Linked DNA regions of Homo sapiens: all the other regions are linked to region 3. The links are contacts of gene promoters, found by promoter capture Hi-C in blood cells and fetal thymus (Javierre and others, 2016). All regions are on one chromosome and are shown on one strand. The core of a region is centred on a gene start or on the middle of the fragment in contact, and the rest is flanking DNA. Distances in the headings are between cores, read along the strand shown.

The links. The method cuts DNA at HindIII sites, captures the fragments that hold promoters and counts their contacts. A CHiCAGO score of 5 or more calls a contact.
Region 1: a fragment that was not itself captured here is called in contact with the fragment with the promoter of SPP2 in region 3 in 1 of 17 cell types (total CD8 T cells); the score reaches 5.7 in total CD8 T cells.
Region 2: a contact is called between a fragment that was not itself captured here and the fragment with the promoter of SPP2 in region 3, in 1 of 17 cell types (total CD8 T cells). The highest score is 5.8, in total CD8 T cells.

What each region holds. Positions count from the first base shown.
Region 1 is chr2:234,272,409-234,276,698 of GRCh38, reverse strand. No RefSeq gene overlaps it. Among named protein-coding and RNA genes, the nearest start is that of LINC01891, 180 kb to the left of the region's middle. The HindIII fragment of the contact is 1,267 bases long and covers 2,102-3,368 here.
Region 2 is chr2:234,253,974-234,258,168 of GRCh38, reverse strand. No RefSeq gene overlaps it. Among named protein-coding and RNA genes, the nearest start is that of LINC01891, 200 kb to the left of the region's middle. The HindIII fragment of the contact is 2,570 bases long and covers 784-3,353 here.
Region 3 is chr2:234,048,956-234,053,749 of GRCh38, reverse strand. SPP2 (secreted phosphoprotein 2) reads right to left here and starts at 3,048. Exons shown (of 8, transcript NM_006944.3): 1 at 2,879-3,048; 2 at 2,655-2,779. The coding sequence starts at 2,963. The HindIII fragment of the contact is 10,293 bases long and covers 1-4,794 here.

The DNA.
Region 1 (4,290 bases), core at 1,486-3,985, 220 kb before region 3:
TTTCACATGAATTTAAAATCATACTTAAATCATAATGATAAGGTGTGGTTACAATCTCAGATAAAATTATAGAAGATCGGATGATGTTAGAGTAATAAGTCAAAGCTTTAAAATTCTCATCTTCCATAAAAAAGAAAAATATATTTGGCTGTTATTTCACCATAAACATTTGTAAACACAGCTTCGATTTTTTTTTTGTAAAAGCTATAAATACTGGTAAAACTAAAATAAGATTTTTTAATTCCAAGTTCTTAAAGAAGTAAATAAAAATAAAGCACAGAGTTTACAACAACAACAAAAAACAGAGGAAAAGTGGGGAAGGCAGAATGAGAAAATATATACAAGATTAGAAAAGATCTAGCAAAATACCATGGCAGTAAAAGTGCTTTAATCCTCTTATTGAATTCCATAATTTGTACTCTATTAAAAATCATTAACTAGTTTTCTATAAGAAACCCACTCAAAGAGAAATAGAGAATTAAACTTTTAAAAACCCTGGACCAAAAATGATAATAACAATAATGAGAAAAAGACAGACATTGCAAAATTAATATGCAATTAATGAGACAAAGGGTTTTAGGCAGAAAACATAAACCAGGACACAGAGTCACTTTACAGATAGATTAAAAAGCCATTAATGGCTGAGCTACAACACACAAAATAATCTGTGCACCAAATAACATAGGTGTAAAAATTCAGAAAAATAATTTTTTTTAGTTATACCTGAGTGGGAGACTTTAGTGCTGCTCTAAAGAGCTGTCATCATTCAGTGAAAAATAAAGACCGTATTTGAGCCATAGAGGGAGTGAGGTAAAATAATAGATACATGCTTTCTTACACCTGGTGCTCCATATGGTTTCAAAGTAAATATTCATTTTGTAAGCACTAAACTTTTGCCTGGGAGGTTTGGGCAAAGGGCCATGCAAAAATGAACTCTGATTCTCCTTGGCCTAATCAGTCACACAGTTTCCCTGGCAGGTGCTCTCTCTGGGGTTCATACAGAATTCCCATGGCTTGCTTACCATTCCTCAGGCACTGAGGCAGATAGGATCATGCTGGGACACTCTGATCATGCAGCAGGAGGCGACTGGGATTTGAAAGGACCTTCAGCCACTTCAGAATTTGGTGGCTATTTTTGCAGCAGGTCCAGAGGCTTCCTAAAGCTTCTATGCTAGTGTAATTATCACCAACTTAACTACTTTATATAACCAATCAGTGCCCATAAGGGCCACTGTATGTTTGACCTTGGGGTGAAAATGTGTTTTATTAATTTATGCCTGAACAACTCAGTTGGTCTGGGAGAGTTGGAAATCAATTTTTTTGGGGGTGGGGAGAGTAAAGAAATTGTCTTTTTTTCTTAAAATACACAACATGACATATGAATACATTCTTATAGAAAAAGATTCAAGGATACATAAATACACTGAGCAAGACTCACCTTTCGTTTCTCTGCCTAATCCTATTCATCATCTTATACTTATCCACTGCCAATGTCATGACTTAACACCTTTTCAAGGTCTTTTCTAGACATATACACACACTTAAAAAAAAACTTCATTTTTAGATAATTGTAGGTTTACATGCAGTTGTAAGAAACAAATAGAGAGACCCCAGTTGTTACCCAAATGGTAACATGTTGCCTTTTTTTTTTTTTTTTTTTTTTTTTTTGAGACAGAGTCTCACTTTGTCACCCGGGCTGGAGTGCAACGTCGCAATCTCGGCTCACTCCAACCTCCACCTCCCAGGCTCAAGGGATTATCCTGCCTCAGCCTCCGGAGTAGCTGGGATTACAGGCACCCACCACCATGTCTGGCTAATTTTTTTTTGTATTTTTAGTAGAGACGGGGTTTCAACGTGTTGGTCAAGCTGTCTCGAACTCCTGACTTCAGGTGATCCACCTGCCTTAGCCTCTCAAAATGCTGGGATTACAGGTGTGAGCCACCACGTCTGGCATCTTGCATAATTTTAATACAGCATAACAACCATGAAATTGACAATGACAATGATGGGGCTCAGGGCATATCTCCCCAAAACATGCCTCTTTGGCATAAGGATTATTTTGTGCTGATTATTTTGGGAAAAGGCAGGCACAGGAAAAGCTTTGAAAGCAGAGTTCCTTTTGTAAGGAAATTGATGTCTATAAAGGAAATCTCTATTTGTAAGGGCGTCTCCCTCTGTGCACCAGGAAGAGGAGGATGACTAAATCACTAGAGACTCTAATCAATGGAGAAGACTTAAATTTGATAACAAACCTTACCCTGGGTTTATGGTGCTCTTCCTGGCCATCTCACCTTAACCAGAACTTTGCCCACATCCTCCTATGTTTCAGCGAGTAATGGCATTTAAGCCTGAAGACAACTCTTTGAGATCTACTCTAATTTACTCATCTCTCTGGGTATCTCTTACATATACAGGAGGTATTTGTGTTATTAAACTTGTAACCACCCAGTGGGTTCACCTTGCCTGCTGCCTAGACAGAGTTGATTTATCAAGACAGGGGAATTGCAATAGAGAAAGAGTAATTCACGCAGAGGCGGCTGTGCGGGAGACTGGAGTTTTATTATTACTCAAATCAGTCTCCCAGGGCATTTGGGGATCAGAATTTTTAAGGGCAACTTGGTGGGTGGGGGGAAGCCAGTGAGCCAAGAGTGCTGATTGGTTAGGTAGGAGATGAAATCATGGGAAATTGAAGCTGTCCCCTTGCACTGAGTCGGTTCCTGGGTGGGGGCCACAAGATCGGATAAACCAGTTCATCGATCTGGGCGGGGCCAGCTGGTCCATCAAGTGCTGGGTCTGCAAAATATCTCAAGCCCTGATCTCAGGAGCAGTTTAGGGAGGGTCAGAATCTTGTAGCCTCCAGCTGCATGACTCCTAAACCTTAATTTCTAATCTTGTGGCTAATTTGTTATTCCTACAGAGGCAGTCTAGTCCCCAGGCAAGAAGGTTTGTTCTAGGAAAGGGCTGTTTTTGTCTTTGTTTTAAACTATAAACCAAGTTCCTACCAAAGTTAGTTCAGCCTAAGCCCAGGAAGGAACAAGGACAGCTTAAAGGTTAGAAGTAAGATGGAGTCAGTTAGGTTAGATCTCCTTCATTGTCTCAGTCATAATTTTGCAAAGGCGGTTCCAAACTTGTTTGTTTTTCTCTTGTTAATCTGTCTTCCATCACAGGGAGTTCCGGCTAAGAACTCATGAAGAATGGAGGAAAAAAGTTATTTTCAATGTACCCACTTCCTCAGATTTCTCCAGTTTTATGTGCTCTCTGTTGTGTGTGTGGGTATTTAGTTCCATGCAACTTTATCACATAGGTAGATTTCTTTGACCACCACCAAGGTTGAGGCACACAGCAGTTCCGCACACCTTGTTTAAGCTTTTTATTGAAGTGTGTCAACCTAAAATAACAACAGGCAGAGTGGTTCTGTAAAGAAATTAGTTTACTGAGAAATGGCAGAGGAATTATAATTTGGAATACATGTGCTATAGCAAACTATAGATGCATCTGGGGAAGTTGAGGCTAGGGAAACTTTTAAAGGCAAAGAGGGGAAGTATATGCAGGTTGCTTTGAAGCAAAAGTTCATTGTCTACAGAGGCTTATCACAGGCAGTGATGTGTGTACTGGCCATTTTTAGGAGAGGGTCTTCACAGAAGTGACACTGACTTAGAACTTAAAGTATTATGTGTGTATATGTATATATATATATATATGGCTACTTAAAAGGTTTCAGTTAGGACTGGCTGTTATTGGAAAGGTGCTCTCATAAGAATGACCTTAACTGCAAGGTGTGGTTTGTCCATTCTCTGTGATCGTTCTTGCTATCAGGGAAATATGCATGAAGACCCTCTCTTCAAGGCCTCCCAACTCCATTTTATTAGGGTTTGTCACAAGTGACTCCATTTTGATTCTGAGAATTTTCACAAGTATAATATACATTTAGAAAAGCACCCATATCCTAAGTGGGCAACTAGATGCATTTTCACCAATGGAAATTCACCATGTAACCAGCAAAGAGGTTAAGAAACAAGCACCCGCAGAAGACATTTTCATACTCCTACCAGTCACTATTTGTTAAGGGTAACCACAATCCCACATAGAGCATAACAGCACTGATGAAGTTTTGCCGTTTCTTAAAGTAAAAATAGAATTGTGATATATTCTCTTTTCTCTCAGTATTGACTTCCTTCTGTGAAAGGAAAATAGATCTTGGGACCCCAAACTCACTAAGTCAAAGGGAAGAGTCAAGCTGGGAACCGGGTCATGCAAACCTGCCTCCGATTTTGGTTCCTAGATAAGATG
Region 2 (4,195 bases), core at 819-3,318, 210 kb before region 3:
AGCTCCCTCCTCCAGCAAGTGGGACATTTTCACATCCACCGTCTTAGCTTAGGGCAGTAGGGATTTCCTAAAGATGAACAACCCTGTCTGGTTACAGGTAGATTGTTCTTGAGACACAGGCCACACCCCTCCCGGCCTTCCCATCCTTGGCAGGGTCCTAGAATGCTGTTTCCACTTTTCCAGATGCAATGGTGAGAAATTTGGTGGTGATTACTGAGAAAACCAACTCTGGTTATTTCTGACAAAATCAAAGTTGTTTGGTTAGGGTTAGGGTTAGGGGGTATACTAGTCCGTTTTCACGCTGCTGATAAAGACACACCCAAGACTGGATAATTTACAAAGGAAAGAGGTTTAATTGACTCACAGTTCCACATGGCTGAGGAGGCCTCACAATTATGGCAGAAAACGAAAAAGGAGCAAGAGGCTATCTTACATGGTGACCGGCAAATAGAGAATAAGAGCCAAGCAAAAGGGGTTTCCCTTTATAAAACCATCAGATCTGTGAGACTTACTCACTACCATGAGAACAGCATGGGGGAAACTGCTCCCATGATTCAATTACCTCCCACCAGGTTCCTCTCACAGCACGTGGAAATTATGGGAGCTACGATACAAGATAAATTTGGGTGGGGACACAGCCAAACCATATCGGGGGGATTTGCAAAAGTCACCCCTATCATAATGCCTGAGGGTTTGTACTGCTACATCAATTACATTTTATTTTTTCTTTCCCTCCCTCCCTGTCTCCCTTCTTTCCTTTCTTTCTTTATTAAAATGTAAGCTTCCTGAGGGTAGGGACACTGACTGTCTTACCCAACTCCTGGAATTTGTGCCTGACACCTAATAAGAACTCACTATATACTTGTTTTGTTGAATGACATTTCAAAATTGATATTGACATGAACTGAGACCTGAAAGGTAATAGAACTCTGTTGCCTTTCCTCATCCTGAATTGCTCTCTATGTTTATAAAATGGTGCTTTTTTACCAAATCAGACCCAGTGTTACACATTTACATTGGATTAGCTCATTCAGTCCATATAAAATTCTATTGTCATTGTTATTATCTGCATCTTTATAGACAATGAAACAGGTTTTTAGAGTAAGTAAATTTTCCAGGCTCTCTTGCCCACAAGTGGATGAGTAGGGATTTGAACCCAGGTCCTCCTGACTTCCAAGTCCATATCTATCCCTAGGTATCTGTCAACAGGTGAAATCTACCATCCCACATGATGATCTGAGAGAAGTGGCTTTTCATTAGAATTTTACCTGGGATGAATGCAGGGGTATCACATCAAGGTTATCAGGACTTTGATTGCCAGTAACAAAGAAGCCCATGAGGGTGGCCAACTCAAGGCAGGCGACACCCACAATCTCTTGAGTAGACAGGACCAGGAACAGGACTCCACGAGGATAGCAGTTATTTCAGGAATGCTCACCTGGTAGGATCAGCAAAGCTGGGTCACATGAGGCCAGAATTATCCTCACCTTGACAAGAATGCAGGCTTGCCCCTTCCCTCTCTGGTTAGAGCAGCGAACTCAGGAGTCATCTAATTCCTCCATCCCCCCAGCTTGCACTGGGTGAGGAATAGGTGTGCCTTGTACCCCTGCCCTGAGCAAACACCCCAATCTCTTAGTATGGGCAGTCTCTCTCTTAGTTGCACTTAGACAAGAAGGACATTTAAAAAATAGATTTCATTAAAGATGAAAAAGATTTCAAATGCACACACACACACACAGACACACACACCCCTACTGAACTCAGAGTTCTTTGCCCAATTCAACTAAAGACTGGCGGCATCCACCTATATATAGTTTGACCACACCTAAGAGCAAATGCCAGGTGCTTAGACCAAAATTATTCTTCTTCAACCTTGACCTGGCTGAAATCCTGACTTGTTTGAAGTAACGACAGGTCCACGGCTGATGGTCTTGGGGCACTCATTACATGAATATTTGCTTAGCTTTTGGAATGTCTGCACCTCAGTAAAAAACTTCATGGATTGCTCAGGTGTTTTCCAAATGATTTGGTTTAGAAAGAAGTTTCTGTTTGGATTTGTAAGGGCCTCTTCTGGTGTTGACCTGGTTTGCCACTTTGACCTGCTGGGATGACTAGACTGGGCCATTCTATCCAGGAATCCGGTATTGCTAATGGAAGTCATATTTATGCTTACATTTTGAATGAGTGACTCTGACTTCTTCGTTTCTATAAGCCTGTATTTCAAGTACCAATAATTATGTAGTTGCTAAATCAATAGGTCTAATACTTTCTTATAAAAAGTGTTAACATTGAATAAGGAAGGCTATTCTGGTTTATGTATATTGCATACATTTTCTCATCATATCATACAGATTCTAGAAAATCCAATCACTTTGATTTTTGAAGCTAATATTTCTTTCACTGTGTATAGTTTTGAAGGTTCAGGAAAAACCTATTTTGGTCTCACATATATTTCTACTTAGCCCCAAACAGACCCAAAATCCTGATTGTGCTCCAAGCCAAAATTCTGATATAAAGATAAATCACTTCTTTGTTGATACTTACTTTAGTGTCTTTAAAGAAATCTCCTTTCTCCACTAAAATACCAGAGAGCAGAAATTGGCATGCAGCAAGCATGTATATAAGCAGGCTCCTTTTGTGTAGTTGAAGCACAATGCCATCTGTACCCTCTTTTGTTTAGCCAAAGTACCTCAGTTTCTTTCCATCAATAACAATATACAACGAAACCTCCTCTGCTTAGGGGATGGCAAACGTGGACTTTGAATTCAATTACGTGTTATACTTATTAATCATCTAATTCATTTGGCTGAGGAATAGCGTTGCCTAGAGCAATGTAAATTGTTTCAACCAAACAGTATTTGCTTCATCAGGTTTACCAAATCAGCTAATGGAAAAATACAGAAAGATGCAGAAGGCTCTCTACTGGGCATCTCTGGGAAGCACTAGGTAAGTAAAACCTGTCCTGTGTTTGAGGATCTTACAATCTGGTTGAGGATCTGAGATGTGGGGTTTCTGAGACAGGTAGAAGGACCTCAAGGGAGCATGGGGTTCCTTCTCCCTCCCCATTGTTCTCATGTAAACAACCACAGCATAAACCACCTCAAATTGTCTTCAAAGCGACTATCAATCTATATGTCCACATCTGTCTCTATGTTCATAGACACATGTACCTCCAAAACATAAAACAGAAAACATGTGCATCTTCATTACAAAGTGAAACCAGAAATTAACCACATCCCAGCATCCATGAGGGATTTTTGCAAATGCAGTGTGGACAGGACTACACAGAACACATCACTGATTGCTAGGAAATGCTTCACATCCAGAGACAAATAATGCCTGGAAAGGAAGCTTGGCTGTGCCACACAATAGCCCACTAGCACCCTCTCATTCAAAAGCATGGGCTCACAGGCACGGTGGTGCACACCTATAATCCTCAGCTACTCGGGAAGCTGAGATGGGAGGACTGTTTAAGCCCAGGAGATCAAGACCAGCCTGGGCAACATAGCAAGACCCCTGTCTCTCTTAAAAAAAAAAAAAAAAAAAAACCTTAGCTGAGCATGGTGGCACATGGCTGATGGCTGTAGTCCCAGCTACTCGGGAGGCTGAGTGGGAGGATCTCTTAAGCCTAGGAGTTTGAGACTTCAAAGAGCTATGATCACACCATTGCACTCCAGTCTTGGCAATAGAGTGAGACCTTGTCTTTAACAAAAACAAAAATAAAAGCATAGGCTCTTAGGAGATGGGGCCTACAGCCTGCCTGGAGTGCTCTAAAGCTCCTAAGTTGCCTTTCCCTCCCACCTGCACAGCAGAGGCACTAAGCTTCACCAGGGCATGCAACTTGCTCCTGATGAGTCGGACATTCTAGGTAGAGAGCCAGGGGTGTGTATATGGTGTGTGTGTGTGTGTGTGCGCACATGGGAATGCATGCAGAGGGCACAAACACTTCCCCTGGAGTCCCATCAGCATCTCTTCTAGGAAGTCAGACTGGTGGTCAAGATGAGAAGACGCTCCAAGCTGCTTCTACCAACCTGCCTGTCTTGACTGACATCCATCTCTCATCCCCAGGTCACCCCAACTCCCAGATTCCTGGATCTCCAAACTAGTCATCTACTACCAATGCTAGGCTGACAAATCAAATACAATATGCCCAGTTAAATTTGAATTTCAGATAAGCAACACAAATTTTTAAGTG
Region 3 (4,794 bases), core at 1,799-4,298:
AGGTTGGAGCAAGAAAACCATCAGTGCTAAAGTCGTGTGGATTTTTCCTTTCTCCTCCTTTCTCAAATTTGGAGCCCAGGAGGTGAGTAACTTGAAATCAATTAAAAGAATATTTGATCTAGGTCTGTTGGTAATACCCAGTGGTTCTTCACCGAGACCGCACATTAGAATGAGCAGGAGAACATTTAAGAATATGAGTCCCGCCCTCAGAGACTGGGATTTAAGGAGTCGATCATCCCTCCTGGACATCAGAAATATTTAAAGCTCCCGTGCAATGATGATGTGTAGTCTGAGTAGAGAATCACTGCACTTGGTAAGCAAACCTGAGGGCAAAACAGAAGGGCCCGACCCTTCTCCCTACAACCATTGAACTGTACCCCCAAATACTCATGACTAAACCACTTATTTGCTTTGAACATATTCTTAGAAGTGAAACTATGCAATTGAAAGTTTTAAATATTTACTAATTTAACGTTTAACATGCTAGTAAATATGTTTAACACATATTTCCAACTTGCTTTTCAAATACAATTTTACAAAATTCCAAACTCTCGAGCGGCAGTTGTGATGTTTTTTTCACCGTTATTCTTTTACCTTGTTATTCTTCTTTTTCACATTGCTATTTTAATTCTGCACTTTTCTTCTATTAGGGAGGTTGAATAGCTTTCCAAATCTTTCTTAGTCTTTTGTATTTCCTCTTTCGTGAATTGTTTGTAACCCCAGTGCTAGTGATCTATTCACTCAACTCTCTCCTGAGGGCTTTGCCTTTTAGTGTATCCCTCATGTCTGCTAGGGTAGAGAGAATTGGTATATTTGGAGCCATCTATAGGGTGTTTATAGAAGACATGGTTAATACACACAACATAAATCAAAATATGAAACACTCCCAATAGAAAAAAATATCACCAGGAGAGATCAAAGGAAGAGAATCTCCCTTCCAGTGGGAGAAGAAATAGAGTTCTCAACAAGAGGGCACGGTGACTGTAGCTTGACCAATGAATTTGAATAATCAGAAAAGGCAGGGAGAGGCAAGAATAGGCAGACCTCCAGGTAAAGGAGCAGTGTACTTGAGGTGGAGAGGCAACATTTTTCATGTGCTCATCAAGAGTCACACACATCGCATATAATTGTATCTATTTTTAGGTGCATGTGCGTCTGGGCTCAAGTCTGGGTGACTATACCAAGATGGCACATGAGCCAGAACACGCTCTGGTGGCTGTGCCTCACAATAGCTCATCTCCACAGGGCAGATTTCCACGGTGTCAGTAATTGGTTCTCTTGGGATCTATCCTCATGCTCTTATTCATCTAATAAACTGCTAACTTTCTTCTGTGGTGAGCAATAGCTAAATCAAAAGTAAATTTAAACTGTTCATCTGCAAGGTTGGCAAAAAGACCCCGATTCCACACCACCACAAGTGGATTTCATTAAATGCCAATGGAAACTGGCATTTGAAATACAATACAAGCAAGGAAAGGGGGTTCTGTATTCTGATCCAGGAGCAGCTCAACCTTTGGTGTGGCAGCTGACCAGTGCCTCCACACCACAACATCCAGAGCAAGTGACTCCACTCTGGCCATGATTCTGGAATGGCACCTAAAAAAAAGCATAGCCCATAGTCTTCATGAACTATAATCAAACTAGAAAATAAAACTGGGTCCTTTTGATTCATTTCCCTTGAAATTTGGAAAAGAGAAACTAGGAGCCAGGTTCTGAGGAAGATCAAGCTGAATATGTTGTATTTGGAGACTAGAACTAGGAAATCATGAGCCATGTGCTCTACAGAGTAGCAGAGGGAACAAGCTAAGAGTCAGTCCAGGAGGGATGGGAGAAGGCAGCAGGCAGACAGAGAGAAAGCAATGTCCATCTGGCCTCTGCTGCCTGGACCTTCAGCCGTGTCTTCATTCTCATTCCCATGCTGCCTGGCTATACAGAGCCTTCATTCCTAAGATGTGCAACTTTATAGAACCTCTCTACCTCCCACCTTAACCTAAATTTGCTTGAAAATATGTTCATCCCTACCTCCAAATGAGCCCCATGCAGATGATAATAAGGCAGTGAAATTACCTGGGGAACAGGAAGAAGGGAGATGACTTGCTGCTTATGTTTCTCATTTCCTTTGAAGGATATTTTTACATTTCTTTCCTTGCATATCACAGACTTAGTCATTGGAAGCCCAAGTGATTACTCTTTCTTTAGCTCCCAAAGCTAAGAGGAAACAGACTATTACCAAATTGACAAGGAAAGGTGAATTTCTTTGACTCAAAAGCCAGATTATTTCCAGTAAGTATTAGGAGCAGAACTGCTGAATTTGAAAGGAGGCTCATTTCCAATAAATGAGAAGTTCGTAATAAAACACCTCAGAAAGAATCGCGAGGACTTCAAGTACAAAAGCAGGCTGCAGGGAACCAGAAGACAAGGTTAGAGAGGAGAATACAGCAGAAGAATCAGTCATCAAAAGTGGTTTGGATAGCCTCATGACAAAAAATTGTAATTAAATCTTTCTCTGTCAAAGAAAAGAGACAGTATGAAAGAGATGACTAGCTACTATCATTTTTAAACTGGAGAAAATTTCTTAAAAGTATATCCAATGAACTGACAAAAGGCAGACAGCATTGGAAGGAGGAGTAGAGAAGATTTCATTTTGCACTTACTCTTTTTAATGAGCTTCTGAATGCCCGAAACAGATACGGACTCAGTGACTGGGAATTCACTTTTACCACAGAGGCACTGAGGGCATCCCTTAAGGAGGATGGATCGTAGTCGTACACTGGGAAACCTGGACACGCAAGCACATGGGGCACAGTGAGACAAGACACAGGCGCCAGCATGGCTCTGCATGATCCAGAGCAGGTGGCCAGGTTGGTGAATACCTTACCTGAGCAAGACCAGTAGTTCATTCCAAGAGCAAACATAATCAATATCTTCATCATCATCGTCATCTTCTCCATTCTGGAAATCATGATTGTAATCGAGAGACAGAGAGTGTCTCTCTATGTGTTTGGGGATGACAGTTCTTCCTAAGAGGAGCTGTCTTTATCAAACACTGGCTGCTTATTTTGACTGCAGCAATCTGTAACTTAAACAGAAACAATTGATCCTGGGGTCAATATTTTCTGCTGACTTTTCCTATGGAAAGGTTCCAGTTTGAGGACACTTTTGAAGTTTACAACTCACAAGAGAACTTTAGCCCAAGGCAAAAGGCATCAAGAGGCTCAGGATTCCACGTGTGCTGTTTATTTTTCTCTATTTTAATTTCATTCTTTGGAGGGGATATAATCTTACATTCAACAAAATGGTTAATCTTAAATTGTTGTGTATTGAGATCCCCTCATGGTTCTAAAGATCTTGCAGTTGACTACTTATGAAAATAGTGTGGGTATAAGATCTTCTTGGAAATTATGACTTTGGAGAAGATAATTTTATATAGGGGTCCTAAATATTCGAAGCAAGTACAAGTGCAGTAAAAAGCTGGGACACACCATCCTATTAACCAATCTTCTGTGCTACTGGACACTTTTGCACATCACCTGGATAATAAGGTATTTACATATTGATGATTCCCATGCACTGTAAGATCCCAAGGTAGTTTTTGAATGATTAAAAAGGAGAACTACTTAATTGGAAGTACAGTTTGTGTTGTATGTAGGTCATTGTGTTCTTATTTGTGGATTTCACGCATAAGAAGCTGTGTTTTGTCTCAGAAAGACCTGGACTGAGATCTTGGCTCTACCATGTACCAGGAGTATCCCCTTGGGCATGGCACTCAACACCTCTGAACCTCAATTTTCTCATCTATAAAATAGGCATAAATGGTTAGAGGTCAGGTGTGTTCTTAGTCAGGGTTCTCCAGAAAGGAGAACCAAAATATAGAGGGAAAGAAAAAGAGAGATTTTTTAAATATATACTTTAAGTTCTGGGGCACATGTGCAGAACCTTCAGGTTTGTTACATAGGTATACATGTGCCATGGTTGTTTGCTGCACCCATCAACCCATCATCTACATTAGGTATTTCTCCTAATACTATCCCTCCCCCAGCCCCCCACCCCCCAACAGGCCCCGGTGTGTGATGTTCCTCTCCCTGTGTCCATTTGTTCTCATTGTTCAACTCCCACTTATGAGTGAGAACATGTGGTGTTTGGTTTTCTGTTCTTGTGTTAGTTTGCTGAGATTGATGGTTTCCAGCTTCATCCACGTCCCTACAAAGGACATGAACTCATCCCTTTTTATGGCTGCTTAGTATTCCATGGTGTATATGTGCCACATTTTCTTTATCCAGTCTATCATTGACAGGTATTTGGGTTGGTTCCAAGTCTTTGCTATTGTGAACAGTGCCACAATAAACATACCTGTGCATGTGTCTTTATAGTAGAATGATTTATAATCCTTTGTGTACATACCCAGTAATGGGATTGCTGGGTCAAATGGTATTTCTAGTTCTAGATCCTTGAGGAATTGCCACACTGTCTTCCACAATGGTTGAACTAATTCACACTCCCACCAACAGTGTAAAAGTGTTACTATTTCTCCACATCCTCTCCAGCATCTGTTGTTTCCTGACTTTTTAAGGATCGCCATTCTAACTGGCGTGAGATGATATCTCATTGTGGTTTTGATTTGCATTTCTCTAATCACCAATGATGATGAGCATTTTTTCATGTGAGTGTTGGCTGCATAAATGTTTTCTTTTGAGAAGTGTCGGTTCATATCCTTTGCTCACTTTTTAATGGGGTTGGTTGTTTTTTCCTTGTGGCTAGCCATATGCAGAAAGATGAAACTAGATCCCTTCCTTA